Linked DNA regions of Homo sapiens: region 2 is linked to region 1. Evidence: promoter capture Hi-C in human tissues and cell types (Jung and others, 2019). All regions are on one chromosome and are shown on one strand. Each heading gives the region's core, a stretch centred on a gene start or on the middle of the fragment in contact. The rest is flanking DNA. Distances are from core to core; before and after follow the strand shown.

Region 1 (4,248 bases), core at 1,702-4,201:
CCAGGCCATACAGTTGCAAAGTTCGACCTGGAATTTAGGACTGTCTGACTCCAAAATCAAGTCTTTATTTACTTTACTTTTCAATTTTAAATAATTCTAACCTATAGAAAAGTTGAAAGAAAATCACAAAAAAAACCTTCATCTTGATTCACCATTTGTCCATATTTGTTTCTCTTTAAACATACATACCTGTTATTATGCTGAATCATTTAACAGTAAATTATAAACCAGCACTGTCCAAAAGAACTTTCTACAATGGTGGAAATGTTCATATCTGTACTGTCCAATATGATAGGTAGTAGCCACATGTGGTTATTTAAATTTAAGTGAATTAAACTTAACTTACCACATTTCAAATGCTCACTAGTCTGTGGCTAGTGGCCACTATATTGAATAGCAGTTATAGATATTATACTCCCTAACCTCTAAATACTTAGGTGTGTATTTCCTAAAGAACAAGGACATTCTCTTACATAACTGCAATCCAATTACAGAGTTCAGGAAATGCAACACTGACACAACACCATTACATAATACATTGTCATATTCAAATTTGGCTAATGGTCCCAATAACATCTACTGTAGTAATTTCCTCCTTCCTCCCCAGTCAGGGGCCACACATTGTATTCAGCTGTCTCTTCTGTCTCCTTTAGATTCTCAGCCTTTCTTTGTCTCTCATGACACTGGCATTTTTGAAGAATACAGGCCAGTTGTTTAAAATGAATAATTTAATGAATTTAAATAAATTATTATTATTTACGAATTATAATTATTTAAATGAATTATTTAAAATGAATAATTTCTACAGATTGGCTGTATAACACTGTGCTTATAGTTAACAGTGCTGTATGTACATTTAAAAACTTGTTAAGACGGTAGATCTCATGCTGTCTGTTCTTACCACAATAATTTTGTAAAAATCTCTTAATTCAGGGTTTCCTGACAATTAGATTCAAGATATGCGCTTTGGGGTAAGAATATCTTAGAAGTGATGTGTTTCTGTCAGCATATTCCATCAGAACAAAGCCCACAACCCGGAAGTCCTACGGAAATATCGGAGGTCAACCTGAGACGACTAGGTTTCTCCCTACTTAAAAACCTTCAATGGCTCCCTATCATTACTAGGACAAAACCCACACTCCTTAGTAGGCACCAAAGGTTTTGGACTCTACCTTGCAACCTTGTTTCCAGCCTCTCCAATCACAAGGAATGACTCACAACTCCCCCAAAACATGCCAGGCTCTTCCATGGCCTGTGTCGTTTCCCCCACACCCCCTCACCTGGTGAACTCTTCCTCTTCATTCAAACATCTCCTCCAGAGAAGTTTCAGTGATTTCATCAGAGTGACCTCCCTTCAGGCTGTACTCTAGAAGCCTTTTATAGAGACCCCCTTTACAGGTGACATTTACCATGCTGCAATAATCTGGCTACATGTCTGCGTCTCCCGTGTCATGTAGCAAATCTTTTTTGACCACCTACTATGTGCCAGGCACTATGGTAAGTGTTTGAAATAGAAAAGCCACACCTGATCCCTTTCTCATAAAGTCTGTGGTCTATGACAGCAGCAGACAATTAAGGAGTTATAAAAGTGTCGCACTAGGCCCTACTGTGTCCCTGGCACCCAGAAGGTGCTCAATCAATGTTTGCCCAATGAATGAATGTGACCAAAGAGGAGATGGCACTGAAGGGCGGGGTGCACTGGGATGGGGTGAGTGCCATGGGTTACCTGGAGGCCTATAGACAACCTGTTAACCCCTGCTGCCCCGAACTCTGCCAGTCTGGAGCCCGGAGCTGAAGTAGGATTAGCCTCCAATGTGACTTCCAAGTCTGCAGGCAGGTGGGCTGCCTGTGCCACAGCCTCCAGGACAGCAGCCACCGTGTGGGGACTGGCTAGACTGGGGGTCCCCCCACCAAAGAACACAGACTCCACCCTGGGGAAAGAGAATGGAGAAATGAGACCTGGGGGAGCCCTCTGGGATGCCTGCACCTATCCCCCACCACTCCTCCAAATATTTCCCAAAACGCTGCCTACAGCCCCCACTACCCACCGTTGCACCCCGCTGAGCCGCAGCAGCGTCTGAGCTTCGGTCACCAGACACTTCTGCATGGCAGCCTCCTCCAGGCGGCGAGGGATGTACTTGTTGAAGTTGCAGTAACTGCAGCGCTTCTCGCAGTAAGGCCACTGGGGGCAGTGAGTGCACGTGCGCGGTGAGAGCTGCCCTGGCCACTTCCAGGGTTCAGTCGCACACACCCCCAACCCCACCCCCACCCCTATCCCGAGGTCTTTCCACAGTAGCTAGGACATCTAAGCCACACAACTCCCCAAGGCAGGTCGCACTGGGGTTATTACATCCACTTCAATGTGAGAAAACTGAGGCTCACTCCTTTGTTACGCTGCCTCTTCCAACCAGCAGACGTCAGGAAGGAATTCAACCCAAGCTCTTTCTGGGATCATATAATTTTCATACAATTTTCCTATGAGCCATTTTCCCAGCTACCGAGTCAGAACACTGCTCTTAAGAAAATTTTGTCTTGCTAAGAGGAAAATTGTTATGAAATTTGAACCATTTGGTCAGAGTCACCGAGCCGGTGAGTAGCAGAGACTTCAGGTTTCTGGACCAAGTCATTTCCCTGCCAAAGCACAGGGTCCCATCCCAGACCTCGTACGGGGGCACGGAAACACGGCAGGCGGGTTCATAGAGTGACAAACCGCCACCTGGGTTTTGGACGGCCACGGTCACGGCCAGGGCTGCGGCCACACACCGTGGGCTCCGCCCCCGCCCCTACTCACGTGTACGTAAAGCGCCGCGCGCCGGCCCGCAGGCTCAGGACTCGGGGACCCTCCTGCGTTCTCCACGCGGCGGCGCCTCTGGGCCGCTCTGGCTGCTGCCGCCCAGCCGCGAGCCCGGGCTCCGGGGAGCGCCATGGCGCCCAGCGCAGCGCGGCGCACTGACCCGAGCAGGAGACGCGCGCAGGGATCACTGTGAGTGCGCAGCCGGCGGAAGGAAGAGGGGCTGCGTGACCGCGCGACAAGAGGGCCCGGGCCCGGGGCTGCGGCGCCACCTGCCGGGCGCCCGGGCGCTCACTGCGGCCTCCTGTCGGTTCTTTCCCCAGGCCGCGAGGCGGGCTGCTTGCCTTTTGGCACCTTGTGCCCGGGCGAGTTCCCGGACCCATCCAGGAGCTCTTAGTTTGTTCAGTCAATTCCTTGACATTTGATGTGCCTGGCTCAGAACTGGGCGCTGGGGACATCTAGGTGCATAAAGCCAGGTTGCATTCTGGCAGGAGAGAGGCAAGCCAACCGGCCAGGACAGGCAAGGCGTATTAATTCCGTGCCTGCTGGACACCAGAGCCGTCCGCCTCAGTGCTGTGAGGTCATCTGTTTTAAGAGTGTGGGAGTCAGTAGGGCAGAAGAGACACTTGGGCTGGATCTTTCTTTTAATTTCATTTACAAATATTTGGGAGAGGGGAGGTCTTGAACTCCTCGGCCTCAAGCGATCCTCCTGCCTCAGCATCTAGAGTAACTAAGGATTAAGGGCATGAGCCACCACCAGGGCTATGCACGGGATCTTGGAGGAGCAGAAAATCCCAGGGGCAATTGGCTTGGCCGGGAGAGTAGACTGTTTTGGGTCAGGCCAACCCAAGCATCTGGAGGTGTACGTGCTGGAAGGACAGTCAGATGGTGTGTGTAGGAGAGAGGGGGAAGGCGCAGGGGAAGGCCTGGGGAAGCAGGCACCTGAACAACTGTCCCACAAAGCAGAAACATCATGGGCTTCAGAGGCAGGCGGTGCAGGACAGTTCTCCCAGTGGCCTTGAACTGACCTGGTTCTCCCCTCCTTTCTTGCTTGTAGTTCTCAAGAATAACTGTAGACGCCTGTAATCCCAGCACTTTGGGAGGCCGAGGCGGGCAGATCACTTGAGATCAGAAGTTCAAGACCAGCCTAGCCAACATGCTGAAACCCCGTCTTTACCAAAAATACAAAAATTATCCAAGCGTGGTGGTGGGCACCTGTAATCCCAGCTACACGGGAGGCTGAGCAGGGAGAATCCCTCGAACCTGGGAGGCGGAGGTTGCAGTGAGCTGAGACAGTGCCACTGCACTCCAGCCTGGGTGATGGAGCAAGACTGTCTCAATAAATAAATAAATAAAACTGTAGAGTGTGCAGAGAATGCAACATCCTGAGGGAAGGAAGGACTGGCCAGCACAGCCATGCTCTGTTCCAGTCCCCCTAGAAAAAGCATGTCCTTCAA
Region 2 (4,002 bases), core at 1,197-3,696, 33 kb after region 1:
TGTTAAGCAACGCCAGACTGTACATATAAACCCAAGAGTTTGACAGACACTTTGAGACCTTGGGCTGTGGCAGGGCTACACTCTGAGCGCTTCTCTGAAGAGTGAAAGCTCAGGCTGAGCTAAGGCCACACCCTATCAGCCTTTGAGCTAATTTCCAAAGCTTCACCAACTCCGGTATACCCTCTAGGATGGTCAAGCCATCTAGCTGAGAATCTCTCTATAAAGGTACGCCTCAAGCGTCAGTCAGACTACTTTCCACAGAGGCTTGCTTTCATCCTAAGTGAGCAATTAGACTTTAATAATTGGATTCTAACAGACTGGAACTCACTCACTATGTGGCTAAGGGACCTCCTCTATTGAGTGTATTCCCTATGAGATTTGTTTTCTTATTCTCCCCGCTTTAAGCACTGTGAACAAAAAAAGAAAAAAACTCTTTGTATGGCAATAAACTGTGTGACTCGTGAAATCATACTTTGATCATCTCATTATTATTATTATTATTATTATTTTGAGACAGAGTCTCACTCTGTGGCCCAGGCTGGAGTGCAGTGGCGCGATCTCGGCTCACTACAACCTCTGCCTCTGGGGCTCAAGAGATCCTCCTGTCCCAGCACCCCCCGAGTAGCTGGGACTCTAAGCGCGCACCACCACATCCGGTTAATTTTTGTATTTTTGGTAGAGACTGGGTTTCGCCATGTTGCCCAGGCTGTTCTTGAACTCCTGAGCTCAAGTGATCTACCTGTCTCAACCTCCCAAAGTGCTGGGATTACAAGAGTGAGCCACCACACCTGGCCATCCTTATTTTAATCATACAAGACACTATGATTCCATATATATGTCCAGAATAGGTAATTCTATAGAGACAGAAAACAGATTAAGTGGTTGCTTAGTGCTGGGAGGGATGGGAAGACAGAGAGATAATAGCTACAAGGACATAGGGTAACTCTGTGAGGTGATGAAAATGTTCTAAAATTGACTATAGTGATGGTTACACATATCTATGAATATACTATAAGCCATTGAATGTACACTTAAAAAATAATGTGCATAATCTACTCCTAGGTATATATCCAATAGAAATCAAACATGTGCTCACCAAAAGACAGGTACTAGGATATTTGTATCATTTCCAATATTTAAAATACCCAAATGTCCATCAACGATGGAACAGATAAATAAGTGGTGACTTATTTGTAATTATACAATAATGAGAGCAAAGGAACTATGATTATGCCCAGCAATCTGAATCTCATAAAACAATGTTCAATGAAAGAAGCCAGATTTTAAAAGGTATACTGTCTAATTCCATTTATACGTACAAAATAGGCAAAACTAATCTATGCTGTTAGAAGTCAGGAGAATGGTCAGTTGGTGAGGGTCAGTGACTTAAAGAGGTCACGAGGGAACTCCTGGTTTCTGGTCATGTTCTGTGTCTTGATTTGAGTGCTGGTTACATGGGTGTGTTCACTTTATCAAAAGTACATCAAGTGGGCCTTAAAATATGTGTACTTTTCTGGCTGGGTGTGGTGGCTTTGGGATGCCGAGGTGGGTGGGTCAGTTGAGGTCAGGAGTTCGAAATCAGCCTGACCAACATGGTGAAACCCCGTCTCTACTAAAAATACAAAAATTAACCAGGCATGGTGGCATGTGCCTGTAATCCCCGCTACTCAGGAGGCTGAGGCAGGAGAATCGCTTGAATCTGGGAGGCGGAGATTGCAGTGAGCCAAGATTGCCTCCAAAAAAAAGTGTACTTTTCTGAATCTGTCATATATTTCAACACGAAGTTTTAAAAAAAAAAACCTTCTAGGGCTTAAGCTACTGCCAATGTAGTCATAATTAATAAACTAAATTTAGCAACATTGCAGTACCTATTTAACATTCTGTCAGAAAAATAAAAGCAGCACATAGCACATCTGTGCAAAATATATACATTAATAAATAAAGCTGGGCAAGCCAAGAAAACACATCTGTTCATGATCTCTGTCTTAGAAATTACTCAAGAAAATAAACAGTCCCAATGTTGAATGTCATAGGCTTTTCCTTCCTGAGGCTGTGTTTTCTGGACAGTCATGGTACAATGTGACTGTTAGCCCTGCCAACCTGTTTCAGATGTGGATGCATGTTCTACAGGTTCAGGAGCACAGAGCAGCTGATGATGCATAGTTGTTCATTTAGAATATGGCTTACTGAATGCAAGGCTCCAGCAAGATCCAGAGGGCAGCTTTACAATTTTTTTTTTTTTTTTAAAGATAGGATGGGGTCTTGCTCTGAAGCCTAGGCTGGAGTGCAGTGGCATGATCACAGCTCACTGCAGACTTGACCTCCCAATTTCAAGTGATCCTCCTATCCCAGCCTCCTGAGTAGCTGGGAACACAGGAATGTACCAGCAGACCTAGATAATTAAAAAAAATTTTTTTTGTAGAGTCAGAGTGTCTCCCTATGTTGCCCAGGCTAGTCTTGACCTCCTGAGCTCAAGCATTCTTCCTGCCTTGGCCTCCCAAAGTGTTGGGATTACAGACGTGAGCCACCATGCCCAGCCTGTAGACACTTTTGATGACACGTCGGGAATGTAATGATTCTGCTTTATGAAAAGATAAGCACTCTCAGAGAGGAAGGCAGAGATGGGTAAATCTGCAGGGTATCTGAACAGAAGAGAAAAGGAACACTGAGTATCTCCTCTGTAATGCAATCATACAGGTTTTCGAGGCAAATTGTCCCAGCAATTTGTGGGAGATGAGGACTTTTATTCCTGTTTTAAAGATGGAGAACACTGAGATGAAAAAGTTAAGCAACTGGTCCAAGATGCTGCTAAAAAGGTTGATTGACAGCCTCATGTAAGTCAGGCACGGTAGCTCATGCCTATAATCCCAACACTTTGGGAGGGTGAGGCAGGAGGATTCCCTGAGTCCAGGAGTTCACGACCAGCCTGGGCAATGCAGTGAGATCCTGTCTCTATAAAAAATTTAAAAATTAGCCAGGGGTAGTGGCATGCACCTGTGGTCTCAACTATTCAGGAGGCTGAGGCAGGAGGATAACTTGAGCCCAGGACTTCAAGGTTGCAGTGAGCTATGATTATGCCACAGCACTCCAGCCTGGGCAACAGAGTGAGCCCCAATCTCTCAAAAAAAAGCCACATTATCTAATTGCAAACATTTTTCCACCAAAACAGACCAAGTGACACTTACACACAGAAGACAATAATGACCAAATCTGCCACAAAGTCACAGAAGATGGAAGACAAATGGCCAGTAAGCATAGGAAGAGGTGCCCATGTCACAGATCAAAGAAAAACAAACATGAGGCATTTGTTCCCCACGAGATAAGCAAAGATGAAAAATATGGATATTATGATGCCTGCAACTTATTTTCAGATGGTGGCAAAAGTGTGTGTGTGTGTGTGTGTGTGTGTGTGTGTTTGCAGAGAGAGAAACTCGGGGGCTGGGGAAGATATCTAGTCTCTGATCCTTTAGCAGCTGATATTTCTTTTTCTTTTTTTTTGGGCCGGAGTCTCACACTATCGCCAGGCTGGAGTGCAGTGGTGCGATCTCAGCTCATTGCAACTTCTACCTCCCTGGTTCAAATGATTCTCCTGCCTCACCCTCCGGAGTAGCTGGGACTACAGGCATGCACCACCGTGCCCAACTAATTTTTTTGTATTTTTAGTAGAGATAGGGTTTTGCCATGTTGGCCAGGTTAGTCTCAAACTCCTGACCTCAAGTGATCCGTCCATCTCAGCCTCCCAAAGTGCTGGGATTACAGGTGTGAGCCACTGCGCCCAGCCAGTGGCTGATATTTCAAACTCAATTCCTTTTGATCACTTATCTAGATTATTACACCACCGGGGCCAAAAAGCTGCTATTCCAAAAATTATATATAGATATAAAATAATTCAACCTGTCTGATACTGTAATAAATGAAACATTACAAGAAGAGAAAATAGAACAAATCAGTAATCCTCTACCCAAACCAAAGATTGCTGTCTTTCTAGAGGAGTCTATATTT

What was found. The method cuts DNA at HindIII sites, captures the fragments that hold promoters and counts their contacts. A contact is called where the count stands out against the background at its distance.
Region 2: a fragment that was not itself captured here is called in contact with the fragment with the promoter of RSAD1 in region 1 in 5 of the 25 tissues and cell types used here (IMR-90 fibroblasts, adrenal gland, bladder and 2 more).

What each region holds. Positions count from the first base shown.
Region 1 is chr17:50,477,563-50,481,810 of GRCh38, reverse strand. RSAD1 (radical S-adenosyl methionine domain containing 1) reads right to left here and starts at 2,951. Exons shown (of 9, transcript NM_018346.3): 1 at 2,792-2,951; 2 at 2,049-2,182; 3 at 1,727-1,931. The coding sequence starts at 2,926. RefSeq lists silencers at 1,738-2,124, 2,696-3,185. The HindIII fragment of the contact is 23,554 bases long and covers 1-4,248 here.
Region 2 is chr17:50,444,050-50,448,051 of GRCh38, reverse strand. All of the region lies in intron 1 of ACSF2 (acyl-CoA synthetase family member 2), which reads right to left. Among named protein-coding and RNA genes, the nearest start is that of ACSF2, 20 kb to the right of the region's middle. The HindIII fragment of the contact is 8,957 bases long and covers 1-4,002 here.